Regions from separate parts of the Homo sapiens genome. Here all the other regions are linked to region 1. Evidence: promoter capture Hi-C in 16 types of primary human blood cells and fetal thymus (Javierre and others, 2016). All regions are on one chromosome and are shown on one strand. The core of a region is centred on a gene start or on the middle of the fragment in contact, and the rest is flanking DNA. Distances in the headings are between cores, read along the strand shown. Region 1 holds the start of KBTBD4 (kelch repeat and BTB domain containing 4). Region 2 overlaps SPI1 (Spi-1 proto-oncogene). Region 3 overlaps FNBP4 (formin binding protein 4). Region 4 holds the start of AGBL2 (AGBL carboxypeptidase 2).

Region 1 (3,068 bases), core at 1-2,500:
ACTCGCTGACATCCTGCAGCACAATCACCCGGTTGTGGGCCTCCTTCAGGTTGGAAGTGAACATGGATCGGAAGAAGCAGCTCTGAGCTGAGAGGACCAGCCGATGGAGCTGAAACTCCCGGCCTTCCACCGAAATGGTGACATCAGCAAAGAGCTCCTCCTCTAGACACAGTTTCATGATGCCTTGAGCCACACGGCCTGAATGTGACCGATCTTTGAAAGTGTAGTTCACAAAGTAGTTCTCATCCATGGATGCTCCAGGCTCCTCTGGTGATTCCATGCTAGCCAACTTCTCTCTCTGCCAGCTGTCTGCAAAGCAACACCATCTTGAGTAACCTGAGGAATTCACAGCCATAGTCTGTGAATCCAACTGTCCAACTCAGGGAGGGAAAAGGAAGAAGTGAGAGCAAAGTGGGTCCAGATTGGCCTTAGTCCTGGCCCTGTCCATGATGTCCCTGACGCTATCCTTTAACCAAATCTGGGTTCGTTATCCCCAGTGGCGCCCCTCCGCTAATGATATAAATAAAAGTTCCAACTCTGGGTGTTTTCCTGAGAAAACACGGAATAATTCCTTTCCATAATGTTAACAAAAGACTTGGGATTTAGGTCAATATATGAAAGCAAAGGGCTGGGAGAGGCCTGTGATCGTAAAAGCCTTACTAACCAAATAACTGGGGCATAAAACTAGTGAAGCTCAGGGGCAGTAGAATCAGACAAAAAGGACCCCTGGCCCCGGCCTAGTGGCCAGGTCCTCTCCTTCCCAGCGCATGGAGTTAAGACGCTCCATATGAAGCCTAGCCTGGGATATCCGTGGGTCTTACATTTGCTCTCTTCTGAGCTGCTTCCCCCACACTTCCCCGCTCGCTCGAAAGACTCCCTATGGCTGCGTCCCAGAACTTGAGTCCATCCGCCCCCAGGCCGGGGCACTGGGAGGCCCATCACCCTGTGCAATGTCCCCGCTCCACCTTGAGTCGTCTTGGAAACGGTCGCCAGGGAAACCGTTCTTCCCGCTCAGGCCCGCCCGCCCTCGTCAAAAGCTTGGCTCAGAGAGCGGGGGAGGGGTGTGTAGCGTAGAACCCAAAACGCCCGCCCCCTCCCCTCCTCTCACCCGCCTGGTTCTTCAGCGTCCTCGCCTTCTCTCTAGGCTCTGCCACAAGGAGCTAGGACCACGCTCACCTCACGATTTCCCTACCTGCCTGTCTCGCTTTCTCACCTGCGTTCCCTCCTTTCATCCCGGAGCCCGGAACCTCCGCTTCCGGCTCCACGTCCGCCCGGAAGAAGATCTGCTGCACACTTCCGTTTCCGGTCCGTGCCCTTGGGGCTCCGTGTCCTGCTGTCTTTCCGTCCGCTGCCTAGTCTGCATCTGAGTAACATGGCGGCGGCGGCGGTAGCCAGGCTGTGGTGGCGCGGGATCTTGGGGGCCTCGGCGCTGACCAGGGGTGAGCACGGGCAGCCAGCTGAGACCGGGGTCAGGCGCAGCGGCGTGCCCAGTGCAGAGAGCTCCTCAGGGCTCATCCCGCGCGTCTGTGCCTTTTATCTCCCTGTGCAGGGACTGGGCGACCCTCCGTTCTGTTGCTGCCGGTGAGGCGGGAGAGCGCCGGGGCCGACACGCGCCGTGAGTATGTGCGGGCAGCGCTCTTCTCTGAACTATCGGCGGGGCCCCTTAGATGCCTGTCCTTGCCCTAGGATGCCCTTCCCTACGTCCTCCTGGCAAATCTTGGAGATCTGACTTGCAGTGGTCTTCACCCTGCATGCAGAATCGAGCCCTCCCTGTGCCCTTAGGCCTGTTATGGCCCTGATTGTTCCTTGTCCATTTCAATCATCCCCTTTTTGTCTGATTAAACTGTCAGCTCTTTGAAAGCAAGCAATATAACCTTTAGGCCTCAGAGCCCTGTAATAATAGTACCTAGCGTTAATTGAGTGCTTAATGTGTGCCTGGAACCTCGCTAAGCGTTTTAGTGAATGATCTTATTTCGTCCTCACAACAGCCTTATGGGGTAGATAGCATCTTACTCTTCTTACTATAGATCAGGAAACAGTCCAAAGAATTAAACTGCCCAGGGTCAAAGACCTAGTGAATGACAAAGTAGGCCTGCCTGCTGCCAGAGGCAGAAACACCTAACCATTATTCTGTAGCTTGTGATGTGTGATTGCTCAGTGGTTTAGGGTTGCATGAATGAGTATGTACATATTATGTTACAGTCAAGATACACGGACTGGGAGTTAGGAGACCTGGCATTTCTCCTTTCCTGGGTTTTCTCATTGACACACACACACACACACACACACACACACACACACACACACACACCTGGGCCTCAGTTTTCTCATTGACACACACACACACACACACTTTTAAGGAGAGAGAGAGTCTGTGAGGGATCTTCAAGCCCTGAAGTTCTTAGCTTGAGAACCTGGTATAAACTTGCGTGCTAAGGAGCTACAGAGAGGCAAAAGTTCAGTTCCCATCCTCAAACAGCTCTTAGTCTGACAGGAGAACTGAGACTACTGCTTTAGCAGAAATGCAGGCAATGTGAGGGAAGAACTGTGGAGTAATTTTGAGAAGAGGTGAACACCCCAGCTGCTATAGTAAGAGTCTTTCTGAGGACCGTGTAGTTAAGGTGGCACTTTCCCCAAGTTTTCATCACTGTATTCCCTAGAAGGGAAACCTTTCACATGCACCTTTCTCAAGGTGCTTCAGGGAGCCTTTCCTGGATTTGACATCCCTTACAAGCCTAAGAGACTGCATGCAGGGCTGGCTTTTGCCTTCTCCATTTCTTTTTTAAATATGCCTTTTCCTTCCAGCCACTGTCAGACCACGGAATGATGTGGCCCACAAGCAGCTCTCAGCTTTTGGAGAGTATGTGGCTGAAATCTTGCCCAAGTATGTCCAACAAGTTCAGGTAATACTTACTAATGTTATTTGGGTCTGGGTCAAGAAAGAACCATGTTCGCAGGGCATGTGGGAGTGGGCAGACTTGTTTCAAAGAAACTACAGATTCCTCCATCCCAAGCTTGGACTTTTCTCTCAGCATTAAACCAGGTGACTCCAGCTGAAGTTAGCTGTT
Region 2 (6,296 bases), core at 1,237-3,736, 200 kb before region 1:
AAGCGATTCTCCTGCCTCAGCCTCCCAAGTAGCTAGGAGTACAAGTGGGCACCACCACCTGTATTTCTAGTAGAGATGGGGTTTCACCATGTTGGCCAGGATAGCCTCTATCTCTTGACCTCGTGATCCACCCACCTCAGCCACCCAAAATGCTGAAATTACAGGCATGAGCCACCACGCCCCAGCCTATTTAATTCCTTATGTCCCCATCCCCTCGCTGGAGAGTGAGCTCTGTGAGAGCAGTGGCCTTGTCTGGTGCTCATCATGGACTCCCCAGAGCCTACAAGAGTGTCTGATACTCAGAAACTATTTAATGGATGGAATAGGGAGGAAAAGTGGATCAGATGGGAAGCGGCTGGCAGGATGGACGAGTAGGTGGGTGGATGGGAGGGTGAGTGCATGGATGTGGGGGTGGGTGGCAGATTGACTGTCCCCTGGGTCAGTGGAAAATAACCCAGTTGGTCTCTCACAGAGCCCTCTGTGCTTTTCCCACTCCCCAGCCGCTTTGTCCCTCCTGCCTTGAGGAATGCAGTGAAGCTAGCACGGGCCTCGTCCTCTGCACGTTACCTTACCTCAGAGATTATATGCCTTACCTCGCTGAATCATCACAGCCCTAGGAGGTAAGTATTTTCATGCTGTCAGTTTTATAAATGGGGAAATAGGGACTCAGAAAGGTTATGTTACTTGCCCCAAGTTTTCACAGCTGGTAAGTGATGGAGCCAGGGCTGGGCCAAAGCTTTTTCACTAAGCTTCAGTACCTAAAAATGTGGACAAAGAGGACGTGCAGGAATTGACAGAAGTGTGTGGGGGTCTCTATGGTTGAGTCTTCAGACGATACCTTCCAGCGGGTATAAAAAGGGACAGCCCGGCCGGGCGCAGTGGCTCACGCCTGTAATCCCAGCACTTTGGGAGGCTGAGGCAGGCGGATCACCAGGTCAGGAGTTCGAGACCAGCCTGGCCAACATAGTGAAACCCTGTCTCTACTAAAAATACAAAAAATTAGCTGAGCGTGGTGGCAGGCGCCTGTAATCCTAGCTACTTGGGAGGCTGAGGCAGGAGAATCGCTTGAATCCGGGAGGCGGAGGTTGCAGTGAGCCAAGATTGTGCCACTGCACACCAGCCCGGGCGACAGTACGAGACTCCGTATCAAAAAAAAGGGACAGACTGGGCGCGGTGGTTCACACCTGTAATCCCAGCACTTTGGGAGGCCGAGGCAAGTGGATCACTTGAGGTCAGGAGTTTGAGAGCAGCCTGGCCAACATGGTAAAACCTCATCTCTACTAAAAATACAAAAATTAGCCAGGCATGGTAGTGCACGATTGTAATCCTAGCTACTTGGGATGTTGAGGCAAGAGAATCGCTTGGACCCAGGAGGCGGAGGTTGCAGTGAGCCAAGATTGGGCCACTGCGCTCTAGCCTGGGCAACAGAGCAAGACTGTCCTAAAAAAAAAAAAAAAAGAAAAGGACAGCCCAAATGCCCTGATTGGCAGTGATTAAGAGTGGGACAGAGCCAAGGCCGAGGACACCTGGGAACACTGGTGGAGTCTCTGGAGGAACTAGGGGTTCATGACCAACATGGGGTGCCCAGGCATCCAATCAGGAGTCATTCCTAGAGTCCCACCTGAGATATAAGGAACCTGCTTGGACCCTGAGCCACGAAAACACATGCTTTCTCTAAAGTGCTCACTCCATCAGGCCCAGCCCCAGGCTCACTGGTTTCCAGCTATGTGGGCAGCGCCCTCATATTACAGGAAGGAAAACTGAGGCTGCAAAAGGCCCAAAGGAAACGCACCCAAGCCCAGTGAACTGAAGAGGGATTGGGCCAGGGAGAATGCGTCCTTGTTGGAGGAGGCCTGACAGCACTGTCTGTGGTGACCCGAGCCACCAGGGGGCGCCTGTCCCAGGGCCCAGCGGGACCTCCTGGAGTCCTGGAACCGCTTGGGAAGGTGGGTGCGTGGTCTCTGGGTCCCCCAGACCGGGCTCTTCACTCTGGTAGGGAGAGCTGGGGATGGAGTTGGGGGAGGGGGACTTTCTCTCTACATTGCCTGGGTTTCCCACCAAGAGGATGTGTTTTTTACATAATTACAAATAAGCTTGAAGGAATTAAAAAGGATATTTTAAAGGCTTTCTAGCCCTGAAAGATTCTAAAAGATGCCTGTGCGTTCCCAGCTGTGGCCTGGAGGCATATCCGCCTACCCCTGGGATATGGCTTCCAGTCTGAGTTCCGGATGAATCTGGGGCCCTAAATGTGGACCAGGCACATGTGGATCCCTAGCTGGGCCCATCAGGTTTAGACCGCCACAGGTGCATCTGCAGAATGGAGCTACAGGCATGACTGGCCGCAGGGGTGGCCTTCAGGAGTGACACCTTCCTAGGCTGTGGGCCTCTGCCCTCTGAGGTGCAGACACCCCAGTCGCTGGTCTGCCCGGGTCCCAGACGCCCTGAGGAATTCCCCAGTGACGACTCACCCACTGACTAGGCCACCTCGCTTTGGGTCAGGGATGTCTACATCAATAAGCCAAGATCCACTTTGGGCAACCTCCCGCAGCCCCCTGCTCAGGTCCCAGGCACCTAATGCCTCTCTCCCATCCCCTGAATTTGCTCCAGGACGGAGGCTGGGCTATGGGGCAGACAGTCAGACCCAGAAGGACTGGACAGACAGAAGGACACCCTGGCCCAGGCCTCTTCCTCCCACTTCAGCAAACTGGGGGCCTCGGCCTCTGCTGAACAAGAGGTTCTCATAGGTTTTCCTTCGGCCCAGCAGTTCCCAATTAGGGGTGATTTTGCCTCCCGGGGGGATCTGCCAATGGGTGGAGACATTTTTGGTTGTCATGATTGGCCATGGCCCTGGCATGTGGTAGGTAGAAGCAAGGATGCCACTAAGCTTCCTACGGTACCCGGGACAGCCCACCCAGGAATCATCCCACCCAAAATGTCAGCAGTGCCACAGTTAGGAAACCCTGCCAACCACACATGGCAGGAAGTGCGGATGTGCCGGCGGGGAGTTTGGGACAGAGAGTGACGAGAACAGAGAGGAGGAGGTGGGTAGTTAGGCAGGGGCAGAAAAAAAAGCACAGGACCTGGAGCGGACAGACCTGGGTTCCACCCAGCAGCCGTGTGACCTTGTGCAAGTCTCCTAGCACCCTAAGCCTGTTTCCTTGTTTATAAAGAAGACCACAAGGACAGAACCAGCAGATAACCATGGAAGAAATGAACCCCGCACCTTGACACACTGCAGAGGCTCCATAATGGAGGCTCAGGTGTGGGGGTGCAGCGATGATGCTGCAGTTCACTGCCTTTGAGAGCAAACTTGATCTGATTCTCAGAATTCCAAAGAAGTCCTGGGAATCATTTATTCTTTTTCTCTCTCCAGACCCCAGGAGCCCAGGCTGGGCTGGGGGATGGGGGCGTGGCAGGCCCCGTACTCACCGCTATGGCTCTCCCCATCACTGCTGAGATAGGGGTAATACTCGTGCGTTTGGCGTTGGTATAGATCCGTGTCATAGGGCACCAGGTCTTCTGATGGCTGCTGAGAGAGGAGGTGTCAGGGCCTGCACCATGGTGGGAGACCCCAGCCAGGCCTGCAGCACCCCCGCACGCTGGGTCCCCATCACCTTCCCTGGCTCAGTGGCTGCGTTGGACCTACAGCCCTCCCTCTGCCTGGAACTGGGACAGAGAGTGGGGCAGGGGACCCAGAAGGCCTGAAAAGGGGTGACAGGGACCTTGGGGGTGAGAGGTCAGAAGAGGACCAGGGTCCCCCTCTGCTGGGCTACTCCCCATAGCCACCTCACGCTCACACTCACACTCACGCCTGTGTGCCCCCATCCTCATCCCACACACCTCTCCTGGTCACACTGATGCACATGTCCACACGATCCCTGTGTCACCCTCACACTCATAATCCCACACGAGGACTCACTCTCACAGCCCCTACCCACCCCCATGCAGGCGCCTGCACACTATCCCTCACACACACATCTTCATACCCACTCAGAGGTCACCCACCTCACAGAGACATTGTACACTCAGCTCATGCACACACGCAGAGTCTCCTTGATTGACACTCACATGACACCACGTTCCAGCCATCAACACACACACTCACACCCCCAGAGCCACTCACATTCCACCTGCACACTCAACCGCACAGCACACACTTGCCTGCCCAGCCCCACTCTCACAGCCTATGCCTCTCACACAGCCTGGGCAAGAGTGGCACCACAATGACCCTCCACACTGACGGTTGGTGCAGGGGTCACCCAGGCAGACTTAGGGGCCGAGCGCATGGAGGGCCTTGATCCCCTCACTCTCCCTCCTGAGTCCTCCCTATCCTCCTCCTTCCCTCCTCACTGCATCCCCCTCCCCGTCTCCTTTGCTTCCTCCTCCCCCTCCTCACTCCCCTCTGTCCTCCTTTTCTTCCCCCTCTTCCCTGTCCTCCTTCTTTCCTCCCACCTTCCTCCCTCCTCCCTGTCCTCCTCCCCCTACTGGCACAGACACAGGGCCGTGCACACCCAGGAGCCTTCCCAACAGTCATCAGGCCTCCCCGCCCCCGCAGCGTGTGGCCCAGGATTGCATAACAGTCACTGTGGCCCTTAGGGCTGGGCTTGGGGGACCGGGGCTGCCTTGGGAGCCCACCCTACCAGGAGACACTCAGAGTGACCCTGGAGCTTGCAGAGAGGGCTGGGGGTGCCTAGGGATGGCCCAAGGAGCTCTGCCACCCATCTAGCTCCACCTGGAGTTCAGAATTGAGAGGTCAGGGATCAGAGACAGTGGGCCTGTGGCTTTCTTGAGGCAGAATTGGCTCTTTCTGAGACAACCTCCGTCACCCTCTGCCTGGGCCGCCCACTTCGTGTTCCCAGGTGGGAAGGGGTGTCGGTGTGGATGCCACAGCAGGCTGGCTGGTCCTGCCTGGTCCTGCCTGTGGCTGGCCAAGTGAGGAGGCCAGGAGCCCAGCACTGAGCCTGCCCCTCTGGGTTTCCAGGTAGTACAGCCTCGCTGCAGGATGTCAGCCCGGCTCTGGTCGGGTTGGTGTGATGTCAGGCCTGGGGTGCCTCCCAGCCTCCTGGGGTGGCTCTGAGCCAGGGCATAGTGGGGGAAGGGAGCTGCCTCTAGACCAGGAAAGTGGATTCAGGTGGGCAGCCTGCCAAGCCCTTCCCGGCTCCCCTCAAGCCTCCTCACTCCTGAGAGGTCATGGGGTGGGAAAAGGGAGAAGGGTCCTTTCCGAGGGACCCTGGTCTGACACCTGCCTAAGGCTGCAACTGTCACTGAGAGTGAGGAGCAGTGGCGATCTGCCCTTCTCTTCTCGGGGTCCCCTGGGGCTCCCACTTCTTCACCCCCAAGACCCAGTCCCTGTCCTTGTCCCAGCCTCAGCCCCCATTCTCACTTATCACATGCTCACCCCAGGTCCCACCCAGCCCCAATCTCAGTCCTGGCCTTGTCCCAGCCCTGTCCCCTGCCGCGCCTCTCCCTGAACTCCAGCCCTGGGGCCAGCCCTAACTGCACTGTCTCAGCTCCACTCCTGGCTCCTTTCCAGCACCAGTCCCTGTCTCCTGTGGGTACCCCTGTGGGCCCATGGCCCTGACCCTTTGGTCAACAATCATGTCCTCTGTGCCAGGCCCCAGACTGGGCGTTGGGGACCCAGAGTTCCATCAGCTTTGGTTTCCAGGAGCCCCAAGGCCATGGGCCAAGACTTCTGCCCATTGCCTCCTGCCTTCAACCCCTTCCCATCCAGGGGACCGGCCTCCCCCAAGCCAGTCCCCCCATCTCCCTCCTCTACCTCTCTACCACCGCCTTCACCATCCTCAGCCCAGCACCCTCCCCAGGAGCCCCGGCCTCCGCCTGCCACCCGAGCCCTGTCTATAAATAACTGTTCAGGCCCCACCGATCACAGCCCCACCGTGGGCCTGGCCTCAGCCCGCCAGGGCATGCTCCGAGGAAGCCAATGGCCCCCTCGCTGGGTCTCAGGCCAGGAGTTCCAGGGAGGAAACCCTGACTTCCCACTGATAGCAAGCCAGGAGGGCAGTGGGTGGGCTGGCGGGTTCGTGGGCAGGCAGGCAGGCGTCCGAGGGCCACGGGTTGGGCTGGTGGAGGAGTCCCGGTACTCACAGGGGGGACGAGGGGAAACCCTTCCATTTTGCACGCCTGTAACATCCAGCCGGGCTCCGAGTCGGTCAGATCCCCTGCCTCGGTGGGGGCCAATGCAGAGCCCCTCAGGATGGGGTGCCCCGTCAGGGGCTGGACGGTCGTGGGGCGGGTGCAGGGCTCAGGCCTGCCCCCTGAGCTACAGGAGCCCTGGG
Region 3 (6,296 bases), core at 3,797-6,296, 170 kb after region 1:
ATCAACTACCTGTTGTGGGAAGTCAGGGATCCTGAATGGAAGGACCAGCTGAAGCCATGGCAGAGGAACATAAATTGTGAAGATTTCATTTTAATATGGACATTTATCAATTCCCAAATAACACTTTTACAATTTCTTATGCCTTTCTTACTTTAATCTCTTAATCCTGTTATCTTAGTAAGCTGAGGATGTACATCACCTCAGGACCACTGTGATAATTGTGTTAACTGTACAAATTGATTGTAAAACGTGTTTGAACAGTATGAAATCAGTGCACCTTGAAAAAGAACAGAGTAACAGTGATTTTTAGGGAACAAGGGAAGAAAACCATAAGGTCTCACTGCCTGCAGGGTCAGGCAAAAAGAGCCATATTTTTCTTCTTGCATAGAGCCCATAAATGGACATGCAAGTAGGGAAGATATCGCTAAATTCTTTTCCTAGCAAGGAATATTAATATTAATATCCTGGGGAAGGAATGCATTCCTGGGGGTAGGTCTATAAACTGCCGCTCTGGGAATGTCTGTCCTATGCGGTTGAGATAAGGACTGAGATACGCCCTGGTCTCCTGAAGTACCCTCAGGCTTATTAGGGTGGGGAAAAACCCGGCCCTGGTAAGTCTGTGGTCAGACTGATTCTCTGCTCTTGAACCCTGTTTTCTGTTGTTTAAGATGTTTATCAAGACAACATGTGCACCGCTGAACATAGACCCTTATCAGTACCTTTTTGCCCTTTGAAGCACATGATCTACTCCCTGTTCTTACACCTCCTCCCCTTTTGAAACCCTTAATAAAAAACTTGCTGGTTTGAGGCTCGGGTGGGCATCATAGTCCTACCGATATGTGATGTCACCCCCGGCGGCCCAGCTGTAAAATTCCTCTCATTATACTCTTTCTATTTCTCAGCTGGCCGACACTTATGGAAAATAGAAAGAACCTAGGTTGAAATATTGGGGGTGAGTTCCCCCGATAACTACCAAAAGTATCATCAAGGACCAAAAAACCTACACCTCTGTAGTTTAAAGTTTTTGCTGCATAAGCTTCAACATACCTAGATGATGGGATAAGAAAAACAAAATCCCAATAATGGTTGTAAGTCAAGCACAATGATCCCTGTAGAGTAGTACTGAGGAAAAAACATTCTACAAGTAACTTTCAAAAGCTTACTTTTTTCCTTTCCAAAACTAGCTCCAGTTCAAGGGTATCTTGTTCCTCTTCCTCCTCACTTTCTCCAGATTGGACAACACTGCAAAGATCCTCCTGAGAAGGGTCTTCTATATTGTCCAACATAATTTCCTGTGGCTTTACTATTGTTGTTGCTTCTTCTACTGTTGTACTTGTTTCTTTTACTTCTGAAACTGGCTCCTCTTTACAAATTACTTTTCTTCTCCATCTCTCTTCTTCTTCTTTTATTCCCTCAGGCAATAAAGGAGCAAGCAGCGATGCTGCCACCCCTTTCTTCTCCTCCTCACTATTTGAGAGAGCCTGAATTCCTTCATTTACTTCCTATAAAGAACAAAATAATTTAGTCTCATTTAATTCTGAAACAAATCTCACCTGCACATACATTCAATTGCACACACATTCATATTAACTGTTTTCAGTAGCTGAATACTCAAGGTAAAAACGACTTTTTTTTTTTTTGAGATGGAGTCTCGCACTGTCACCCAGGCTGGAGTGCAGTGGCACAATCTTGGCTCACTGCAACCTCTGCCTCCCAGGTTCAAGCTATTCTCCTGTCTCAGCCTCCCAAGTAGCTGGGATTACAGGCGCCCGCCACCATGCCCAGCTAATTTTTTGTATTTTTAGTAGAGGCCTTTCACCACGTTGGCCAGGCTGGTCTCAAACTACTGACCTTGTGATTTGCCCACCTCAGCCTCCCAAAGTGCTGGGATTACAGGTGTGAGCCACCGTGCCCGGCCAAAACCACTTACTCCCAACAGGTGAGTATATATTTATACCATTACATTATTACTTTAGACAGACACTGACTGAATGAGAGCCTAGTTCTAGGTAGGATTCAAATATATCCTCCCTGCTATTCTCAGGATGTCAAAAGGCAGACTAGTAGTAAACAGAGATAGATTTAAGATCAGTATTTTGTCAGCTCATAACATGACTGGATAAATCTTTACCTTCTTCTGTATGATGAGAAATTTTTTTTTTTGAGAGAGTCTCACTCTGTTGCCCAGGAGTGCAATTGCGTGATCTCAAGTCACTGCAACCTCTGCCTCCCAGGTTCCAGCGATTCCCAGCCTCACAGCCTTAGCCTCCCAAGTAGCTGGGATTACAGGGATGCACCACTACACCCAGCTCATTTTTGTTTCTGTTTTTGAGACGAACTCTCGCTCTTCTTGCCCAGGCTGGAGTGCAAAGTGTGATGTCGGCTCACTGCAACGTCTGCCTCCCGGGTTCAAGCAATTTCCCTGCCTCAGCCTCCTGAGCAGCTGGGATTATAGGCGAGAGCCACCAAGCCTGGCTAATTTTTTTTGTACTTTTAGTAGACACAGGGTTTCACCACGTTGGCCAGGCTGGTCTCGAACTCCTGACCTCAGGTGATCCGCCCACCTTGGCAACAGGCCCAATTTTTGTATTTTTAGTAGAGACAGGGTTTTACCAGGTTGGCCAAGTTGATCTTGAACTCCTGACCTCAGGTGATCTGCCCACCTCAGCCTCCGAAAGTGCTGGGATTACAGGCGTGAGCCACCATGCTGGGCCTGATAAGAAAATTTAGTAAGTATGCCATGAAGGTGATTTAGACTAAAGTGAACTATTCCTAGGCCGGGCGCAGTGGCTCATGCCTGTAATTCCAGCACTTTGGGAGGCCAAGGCAGGCGGATCACAAGGTCAGGAGTTTGAGACCAGCCTGGCCAACATAGTGAAACCCCATCTCTGCTAAAAATACAGAAATTAGCCCGGCATGGCGGCGTGCGCCTGTAATCCCAGCTATTCGGGAGGCTGAGGCAGAAGAATCGCTTGAACCTGGGAGGCAGAGGTTGCAGTGAACTGAGATCATGCCACTGTACTCCAGCTCGGATGACAGTGTGAGAGACTGTCTCAAAAAAATAAAATAGCTGGGCGTGGTGGCTCATGCCCGTAATCCCAGCACTTTGGGAGGCCAAGGTGGGAGGATCACATGGTCAGGAGTTCGAGATCAGCCTGGCCAATATGGTGAAACCCCGTCTCTACTAAACTACAAAAATTAGCCGGGCGTGGGACAGGCGCCTGTACTCCCAGCTACTCGGGAGGCTGAGGCAGGAGAATCGCTTGAACCCGGGGGGTGGAGGTTGCAGTGAGCAGAGATCGCGCCACTGCACTCCAGCCTGGGTGACAGAGCTAGGCTAGGTCTCAAAGAAAAAAAAAATAATAAAAATAAAAAATAAAAATAAAATAAAATAAAATAAAATGAACTATTCCTGAAATGAAATTTGTGATTAAAGTATCTGCTTCTCCCATTGGGGTAACACTTGTCCTATCCTCCTTTCTGTAACTGTAAATTTAAGTTATTATTATTATTTCTGGATGGTCTCACTCTGTCCAGGCTGGAACACACTGGCACAATGATAATTTTGAACTCCTGGGCTCAAGCTATCCTCTTGCCTCTGCCTCCTGAGTAGCTGGGACTACAGGTGTGTGCTACCTTGCCTGGGTAATTTTTCTTTTGTAGAGATGGGGTTGATCTTGTTATGTTTTCCAGGCTGGTTTAGAACTCCTGCACTCAAGCCATCTTCCTGCCCTGATTAAATTATTATTTTATTATTATTATTAAATTTTTTTTTGAGATGGAGTCTCACTCTGTCACCCAGGCTGGAGTGCAGTGGTGCGGTCTCAGCTCATTGCAACCTCTGCCTCCCAGATTCAAGCGATTCTCCTGCCTCAGACCCCCAAGTAGCTGGGACTACAAGCATGTGCCACTACACCCAGTTATTTTAGTATTTTTAATAGACGGGGTTTTACCATGTTGGCCAGGCTGGTCTTGAACTCCTAACCTCAAGTGATCCGCCTGCCTTGACCTCTCGAAGTGCTGGGATTACAGGTGTGAGCCACTGCGCCAAGCTCAATTATATTATTTTAAAGTATTTTTTTTGGGCTACATGCAGTAGCTCACACCTATAATGTAAGCAATTTGGGAGGCCGAGGCAGAAGCATCACTTGAGCTCAGAGTTTGAGACCTGTCTGGCAAACATGGTGAGACCACGTCTCTCAAAAAACAAACAAACAAACAAACAAACAAACAAAACCTGGCATGGTGGTGCACACCTGTAGTCCCAGCTACTAAGCAGTCTGAGGCAGGACTGCTTGAGCTCAGGAGAGTAAATCTGCAGTGAGCCATGGTCGTGCCACTGTACTCTAGCCTGGGTGACAGAGTCAGATCCTGTCTCAAAAATAAGTAAATAAAAAGGAAAGGTGCGGTGGCTTGTGCCTGTAATCCCAGCGTCTGAGGCAGGTGGATCACTTGAGGTCAGGAGTTCAAGACCAGCTTGACCAACTGGTGAAACCTCGTCTCTACTAAAAAAAAATAGAAAAATTAGTCAGGCGTTGTGCCTGTAATCCAAGCTACTCGGGAAGTTGAGGCAGAATTGCTTGAAACTGGGAGGCGGAGGATGCAATGAGCTGAAATCGCGCCACTCCCTTCCAGCCTGGGTAACCAAGCAAGACTCTGTCTCAAAAAGAAAAAAATTAAAATTAAAATATATTTTGATGCAAAAAAGTCTTTAAAATTGAAGATAAATTGGAATTCAATATACACTCCCTAAGGAATACAACTTACTTTTCTTACTAATTAGGCTATAGAAATGCTCAGGTTTCACTAACATAGTATCCGTTATTGAAAAATCCAAAATCTGAAACCGTTTGAGCACTGACATGATGATCAAAGGAAATGCTCACTGGAGCATCTCAGATTTCACATTTTCAGATTAAGAATACTCAACTGCTAAGTATAACGCAAATATTTCAGAATTCAAAAAAATTCAAAATCTAAATTATCTCCGATCCCAGGCATTTCAATTAAGAAATACTCAACCTGCAGTAGTTTTTAAAGTAGTTACCTTTATATTTTTAAAATGTCTTATATATGGAATCCGAAAAATAATAGAATGATTCTATGTGAAGTGGAGCCCTGTCTGGACTGCTGCTCCCACGTCCTTTGCAATGATCCAAGAGGCCTCTGTGATACCCTAAAGCTCTCAAAGAAAAAGTGAAGTGGGCCAGCTGCAGTGGCTCATGCCTGTAATCTCAGCACGTTGGGAGGCTGAGGCAGGTAGATCACCTGAGGTCAGGAGTTTGAGACCAGCCTGACCAACATGGTGAAACCCTGCCTCTAATAAAAATACAAAAATTAGCCAGGCATGGTGGCAGGTGCCTGTAATGCCAGCTACTCAGAAGGCTGAGGCAGGAGAATCACTTCTTGAGCCTGGGAGGCAGAGGTTGCAGTGAGCTGAGACAGCACCACTGCGCTCCAGCCTGGGCAACAGAGCGAGACTCCATATCAAAAAAAAAAAAAAAAAAAAAAAAAAGGCCAGATGTGGTGGCTCACGCTTGTAATCCCAGCACTCTGGGAGGCCAAGGCAGGCGGATCATGAGGTCAGGAGATCGAGACCATCCTGGCTAACACAGTGAAACACCGTCTCCACTAAAAATACAAAAAATAAGCCAGGTGTGGTAGCGGGTGCTTGTAATCCCAGCGACTCAGGAGGCTGAGGCAGGAGAATGGTGTGAACCCGGGAGGTGGAGCTTGCAGTCAGCTGAGATCGCACCACTGTACTCCAGCCTGGGTGACGGGGCGAGACTCTGTCTCAAAAAAAAAAAAAAAAAAAAAAAAAAAAAGAAAAAAGAAAAAAGAAAAAGTCAAGTGAGTAACCGCTATAAAGGCTACATAATACACAGAAACAAAGTGAAAGTTATGAAACTTATCCTATTTCACATGTATGACATAAAATATTAAGAGAAGGCTTCCACTCCTGTGCTCAGAGTAACGCTTATTAGATCTGAAAATAAACAAATGAGGTAAGTTTCGACACTGACCTTTTTAACTTCTCGCTTGGCTATGACTGGTCCACTTTTACTACTGGAAACAGAAATCGTTTTCTCCTTAGAATATATGTCTGTATTTACCACAAAACTAGTTTCAGCACCTGGCACAGAACTAAAAAAATATATACTTAGCAAGAGAAATATAAGACAAATACTATCAGCAAAAGATAAGGCTTCAATTTCCTTCTAGGCAATTTCACTTTTAAATTTATTCTTACCTGGGCTGGTAATGCTGTAATCCCTGTACCTGTGTGGCAAGATATT
Region 4 (6,296 bases), core at 1,309-3,808, 140 kb after region 1:
GGGTGGATCACCTGAGGTCAGTTCGAGACCAGCCTGGCCAACATGGTGAAACCGTTTCTACTAAAAATACAAAATTAGCCAGGCATGGTGGTACACGCCTGTAATCCCAGCTACCTGGGTACTTGGGAGGCTGAGGCAGGAAAATCGCTTGACCCCGCGAGGTGGAAGTTGCAGCAAGCCTAGATTGCACCACTGCACTCCAGCCTGGGCAACAAGAGCATAACTCCGTCTCAAGAATAAAAAAAACACTGGGCGCGGTAAGCTCACGTCTGTAATCCCACCACTTTGGGAGGCCTAGGCAGGTGGATCACCTGAGGTCAGGAGTTCAAGACCAGCCTGGCCAACATGTTGAAACCCCGTCTCTACTACAAATACACAAAAAAATTAGCTGGGAGTGGTGGTGGGCGCCTGTAATCCCAGCTACTTGGGAGGCTGAGGCAGGAGAATCTCTTGAACCCAGGAGGTGGAGGTCGCAGTGAGCCGAGATTGCGCCATTGCATTTCAGCCTGGGTGAAAAGAGTGAGACTCTATCGCAAAAAAAAAAAAAAAAAGAAAGAAACAAAAATTACCCAGGCGTGGTGGCTCGTGCCTGTAATCCCAGCTACTCAGGAGGCTGAGGCAGGAGAATCTCTTGAACCTGGGAGGCAGAGGTTGCAGTGAGCCGAGATCGTGCCACTGCACTCCAGCCTGGGCGACAGGGTGAGACTTCATCTCAAAATAAATAAAAAATAAAATAAAATGTCATAAGCCAATTGCAAAATTTATTTTTTTAAATTTTTATTTATTTATTTTTTTTGAGACAGAGTCTCACTCTGTCGCCCAGGCTGGAGTGCAGTGGCTTGATCTCGGCTCACTGCAAGCTCCGCCTCCCAGGTTCACGCCATTCTCCTGCCTCAGCCTTCCCAGTAGCTGGGACTACAGGCACCCACCACCACGCCCGGCTAATTTTTTTGTATTTTTAGTAGAGACGGGGTTTCACCGTGTTAGCCAGGATGGTCTCGATCTCCTGACCTCGTGCTCCACCCGTCTCGGCCTCCCAAAGTGCTGTGATTACAGGTGTGAGCCACCGTGCCCGGCCGCCAATTGTAAAATTTATATAGTAAGGCAAAGACTCAAGAACAGCCGTGACACTTCTGAAGAACAAGGTGGGAAGACATGTCTTTCCAGATAAAGACTATTTTAATGCCATATAGTAATTAAGAGACAGTGATACTGGTAAAGGATAGCCAAACAGACCAATGGAATAGAGAGCCCAGAAACAGACCTTTGTATTAAGTGATGCTGTCTACTTGACAGAGGTGACCCGCAGATCAATGGGGAAAGGAAGTACTTTTCACTAATGGTAGAGGAAAAAGTATTTATTTGTCAATGCAAATTATTTATTAGTCTACCCAAGTGCAACCCTCCCAGCTAACGAAGCAATTTTCCTCTTGAGTCCAGGAAAGGTGATACTAGATAAGAACATGGTATTACCTTTAAAGTAGCCATAATATTGGAGGTGACGGTACATAAAGTCTTCATAAGGATCAGGAATAGTCTGTGAAAGGAAAGGCCACTTCAATCAAGATAATGTTTTCAAACCATAATAGACTCAACAAAAAGTACATGAGCGTTGTTGCATAGGACTAGACTAAACCAAGCGAGCTGCATTCCATGCGAATTATTCTATCGTGGGGATCAAGATCTCCAGCTGAGAAAAGATGCCACCAGAACATCCCTTCTCATCTAGTAGCAGATTTCTGTGGAGTTCCCGAAGAAATGGAGTTCCCCGAAGAAATTTCTGTGGCTTTCCGTGTTGTGTACCGACCTGCTTTAGGTGCGTTTCCAAAGCTGGGAACATGTTACTTCTGGATGGTAGGCTGAAAACTAGTCAGTGACATTAGCATCCAGTCGCAAACCCTGCCCAATTTCCAAATAGGCAGCTGATTACACAAGAGAAGCTACAAAGCCACAAGAGGACAAGTGAAAAAACTGCCAATACCTCCCCGGGCGCCCCCCAGCTCCCTCTTGACTTCAGAAAACCCTGCCAACCCAGCTTCTCCTCAGCTAAACAAGGTGGTCACGCCGAGGCCAGAGGTGCATCTGAGACAGGGAGGGCAGCGTATCTTCCCGCTTCTTCTTCCCAAGGTGCTGGCCCCATGCTTCCCTTTCCCTGAGAAAGGAGATGCTCGCCACAGGAAAGTGAAAGAAATGGGTATGGGAGCACGCGACGAAGTCGTCTCGGTAGGTGCCGATGGAAAAAGGTCAGGGGGTTGGGAAAGTGGGCCCTAAAGATTGAATTTAGGGTTCAGAGGAACCTGGTCTGGGGCAGGTGGTGAGGGGGTTTCCTAAGGGTAGGAGCGGGGAAGGAGAGCAGAAACTTCCCAGGAGGGCAGAGCGATGGATGCGACCGCCTTCGCGCCCCGGCCCGTCCCAAGCAGCACGGATGGCTGCGGCAGAGAAGCTCCAGCGAGGCAGGCGGCCACCGCACTTAAGTACAGAGGCCAAGCAGTGTGCGGGCAAGGGGACAAACTCGCTGCACCCGCCCGCCACCGCCTTCTGTGAGGGCCCGGGTAGTCTAGCAACCGAAAGCAGGAAGCGGAGAAAGGGCGGGGCGGTCGGGCGCTTCCGGGGAGCTAGGCCTCGCCCCCAAGGAGGGAGCGGGGACCCCGGGAAGGTCTGCAACATGTATGGCGGGCAGCGGCTTTCTTCCCCTCATACATCACAGCCCCAGCCTCGGAATCGAAACCGCATTGATGAGTACGATGCCAGTAGCCTTCAACATACTTCCAAGCTGGTTTGCTGTTGGCTTTAGATAACTGTTATGCATAATTTGCTCTAAGAGAGCTGCTGCTTCTCTCCTTTCACCTTAACATTCTCTCCACTGCACAGCTAGAAAGGAAAAATTACCTTCTACACTGCAAATCTTAAGAAACAGAGCTAACAAATTCAAATCACACATTTTGATTAGGTTTAAAAAAATCAATTATATGCATAGAAATTTACTCCAGGCCAGGCGCGGTGGCTCTCGCCTGTAATCCCAGAACTTTGGGAGGTCGAGAGTTGGAGACTAGCCTGACCAACATGGAAAAACCCCATCTCTACTAAAAATACAAAATTAGCTGGGTGTGGTGGCGCATGCCTGTAATCCCAGCTACTCGGGAGGCTGAGGCAGGAGAATCACTTGAACCTGGGAGGCGGAGGTTGCGGTGAGCCGAGATCGTGCCATTGCACTCCAGCCTGAGCAACAAGAGCGAAATTCTGTCTCCAGAAAAAAAAAAAACAAAAAACCAACAACAAAAAAATAAATATACTACAATAAAATTCAAACACGTGTCTTTGGTTAACTATATATGAATATAACCGTATCTGTTACTTTTATCAGTGGGGGGAAAAAAGCTATAAAGCACCTTTTTTTCTGAAATGTTAACCATATTACATCATTGCCAGGAATTAAGTAGGTAAAATATTATCTAATATGGCTATTAACCAATCTAGATATTATAGATAATATTAGACCCCAAAACTTTGATCACACAGCACCATCTGGGACTAGAAGCCTGTTTGTCTAAACTGGCCCCACCACTCCCCATTAAAGATCTCCTGCTCATTTTCTTGAAAGCTGTTGTTAAATGTTTGCACCTTGCATTGTATATGCTTAGAAAAAAAAACAAGTCCTGGTTACATAATCAGAATAACAGGAGTTGACGAGCAAAAGGATAACCCATCAGGATTATAAAAAAAGCTTTATTAGTGCATATATACAAATTTACAAGGTCAGAAACTGGAGAAATACAAAGAGCTTTAAAACACAATTTGCCGTTTCCTCAGTTTAAAGTGACTTTTACCTGATTGTGATACAACAGAAAGTACAGAACAGTAAACTGCTTTTTAAATACTGGAATTTTATGGAGAATACATTCACATAAAGAAAGGAGGTGAATTTTGTTTTGGAACAGGGTTAAGACAATGGAGACATTAATACATAGAGTGTCTTGTTGTATTTACTGCCACATACTTGAGGGGAAATTCTCAAAATCAAGGATATGAACACCTGCTGCTGCCTGTATGCCACCTAGTGTGCGAAACGACCGAGCTACCAGTTCTAGAACTTATGAGAACTACTCTAAAGAGTGTGGCCATCTATCAGCACGAGGTAAACCACTTAGACCTCAGCACTTCAGGGGTGGCCGACTAGAGAAAAGAGGCCAGAAAAAGCTTCAGACAATTCCAGTCAAGCAAGGTAGAATGCAGAGCTGCCTTCTGAATTGCACTTGTTCTGGAGGAGAAGTTAATTCTTCACTTTTGTCAGGGAGTCCTCTACAGAAGTGTTATACTCATGAGCCACATGTTCTTCAAGACTGATGAGGTTAATACACCTAACATGCTAAGTTTGCCAGTTTGAGAATAAAGGCAGCATGGTCAAAGCAATTCCAATCACCTCATCCCTTTGCAAAAACAGAAAAATTACATTTCACAAAAGTGAAAACTTTGTATGCATACACTCTTGCCCAGGAAATTTATAAGATCTCCCCCATAACATTTATAGTTTATTTGACAATAAAACTGGTTAAGACTTTGAACTGAACACAAAACAAACAATAATACAAAAAAGTTTTAAAAACTTAAAAACTATGTGTTTGGAGCCATTTTCCTTCTCTTCAGCCTTGCTCTCCAATCCTCAGGAAGGGCTTCAAAATTAGCATTTCTCTCTGCCATGCCACTGTGAAAACAACATACAGATTATTTTAGTGGAAAGAAAAATTAACAAAAGTATTCATTTCCCAGCAAATAAAAATCTAACTGAAATTAAAAACCTGATCTATCACGTCTATGTTTATGAAAATCTTTTGTTTCTCAGCCAAACATCAGTATATTCTTCATCAAACTTCTTCATTCTGATAGGTCAACCAAACACTACCCCAGTTTTACGTATATGTCTAAGTGCATATTTATTTATTTATTATTGACTGATTGAGACGGAATTTTGCTCTTGTTGCCCAGTCTGGAGTGCAATGGTGCGATCTCGGCTCACCGCAACCTCCGCCTCCCAGGTTCAAGCGATTCTCCTGCCTCAGCCTCCCCTCAGAGTAGCTGGGATTACAGGCATGTGCAACCATGCCTGGCTAATTTTTTTTTTTTTTAAGTAGCGACAGGGTTTCTCCATGTTGGTCAGGCTGGTCTCGAACTCCCAACCTCAGGTGATCTGACTGCCTTGGCCTCCCAAAGTGCTGGGATTACAGGTGTGAGCCACCGTGCCCGGCCTTATTTATTTTATATAAATATACCTCCAATAACCATTAAAGGCACACTGAAGAAATGAAACACGTTCTATTAGAGTTTTTCTTAGCCCACAGGAGTTATGATTCTTCAGGGCAGATATATCTAATCCTCAGTCTACCAACAGGGACCCTGGGATCTAATGTTTTTTTTTCTGTTTTTGAGATGGAGTCTTGCTCTGTTGCCCAGACTGGAGTGCAGTGGCACAATCTCGGCTCACTGCAACCTCTGCCTCCTAGGTCCAAGCGATTCTCCTGCCTCAGCCTCCCAAGTGGCTTGGACTACAGGCGCCTGCCACCATGTCCAGCTAATTTTTATATTTTTAGTAAAGACAGGTTTTCACTATGTTGGCCAGGCTGGTCTCGAACTCCTGACCTCGTGATCCACCCACCTCGGCTTCCCAAAGTGCTGGGATTACAGATGTGAGCCCCTGTGCCCGGCCGGATCTAATGTTTTTGAGTTTCTCTTTCAAGTAGTTTTATTTGTAAGGATTAAAATTCAAATTCTATCTTGCAATTAACAGAATGGATGCATTAGAACCTTTAATAAAAACTAAGCTAGAACCTATCAGAGATTAATTTGAAATCTGGCATCAGTAATAGACAGCTATATTCTAGGTTATACACTGACAATTGATGAACAGTGAGTTGCAGTCAAAGAATGCTGCCCATTTCAGAATGTATACCTTCAAAACAAGGAAAATATGAAATAAAAAATTGTACTTGCTGTGTCTAAAGTCTTTAAAATTTCTAGAATTTTTGAGAAAGCCATCTTCTTGCCTCAGCCTCCCAAGCATCTAGGACTACAGGTGTGAGCCACAGTGCCCACCCAACATGTTTTTTTTTTTTTTTTTTGAGATGGAGTCTTGCTCTGTCGTCCAGGCTGGAGTGCAATAGCACGGTCTTGGCTCACTGCAACCTCCGCCTCGCGGGTTCAAACAATTCTTCTGCCTCAGCGATTACAGGCATTCGCCACCAGGCCCAGCTAATTTTGTATTTTTAGTAGAGATGGGGTTTCACCATGTTGGCCAGGCTGGT

Evidence for each region. Contacts are between HindIII fragments. The CHiCAGO score rates a contact against its expected background, and 5 or more counts as called.
Region 2: a contact is called between a fragment that was not itself captured here and the fragment with the promoter of KBTBD4 in region 1, in 1 of 17 cell types (endothelial precursors). The highest score is 6.5, in endothelial precursors.
Region 3: a contact is called between a fragment that was not itself captured here and the fragment with the promoter of KBTBD4 in region 1, in 1 of 17 cell types (M1 macrophages). The highest score is 5.3, in M1 macrophages.
Region 4: the fragment with the promoter of AGBL2 here is called in contact with the fragment with the promoter of KBTBD4 in region 1 in 1 of 17 cell types (endothelial precursors); the score reaches 5.0 in endothelial precursors.

Annotation. Positions count from the first base shown.
Region 1 is chr11:47,577,720-47,580,787 of GRCh38, forward strand. KBTBD4 (kelch repeat and BTB domain containing 4) reads right to left here and starts at 1,251. Exons shown (of 4, transcript NM_018095.6): 1 at 1,214-1,251; 2 at 1-309. The coding sequence starts at 1,232. NDUFS3 (NADH:ubiquinone oxidoreductase core subunit S3) reads left to right here and starts at 1,355. Exons shown (of 7, transcript NM_004551.3): 1 at 1,355-1,439; 2 at 1,550-1,615; 3 at 2,806-2,903. The coding sequence starts at 1,373. RefSeq lists enhancers at 810-1,469, 1,162-1,401, 1,470-2,128 and a silencer at 2,870-3,068. The HindIII fragment of the contact is 1,977 bases long and covers 1,036-3,012 here.
Region 2 is chr11:47,372,204-47,378,499 of GRCh38, forward strand. It overlaps SPI1 (Spi-1 proto-oncogene), which reads right to left. Exons shown (of 5, transcript NM_003120.3): 1 at 6,106-6,296; 2 at 3,430-3,526. The coding sequence starts at 6,150. Among named protein-coding and RNA genes, the nearest start is that of SPI1, 3.2 kb to the right of the region's middle. RefSeq lists enhancers at 1,963-2,464, 4,898-5,097, 5,768-5,817, 5,991-6,296. The HindIII fragment of the contact is 791 bases long and covers 2,092-2,882 here.
Region 3 is chr11:47,744,893-47,751,188 of GRCh38, forward strand. FNBP4 (formin binding protein 4) reads right to left here. Exons shown (of 17, transcript NM_015308.5): 5 at 6,251-6,296; 6 at 6,024-6,144; 7 at 1,164-1,502. Among named protein-coding and RNA genes, the nearest start is that of FNBP4, 19 kb to the right of the region's middle. The HindIII fragment of the contact is 7,780 bases long and covers 1,157-6,296 here.
Region 4 is chr11:47,712,811-47,719,106 of GRCh38, forward strand. It overlaps AGBL2 (AGBL carboxypeptidase 2), which reads right to left and starts at 2,559. Exons shown (of 19, transcript NM_024783.4): 1 at 2,365-2,559; 2 at 1,808-1,940; 3 at 1,474-1,537. The coding sequence starts at 1,840. FNBP4 (formin binding protein 4) reads right to left here. Exons shown (of 17, transcript NM_015308.5): 17 at 3,684-4,702. The coding sequence ends at 4,612. RefSeq lists an enhancer at 2,237-2,296. The HindIII fragment of the contact is 6,151 bases long and covers 1-3,722 here.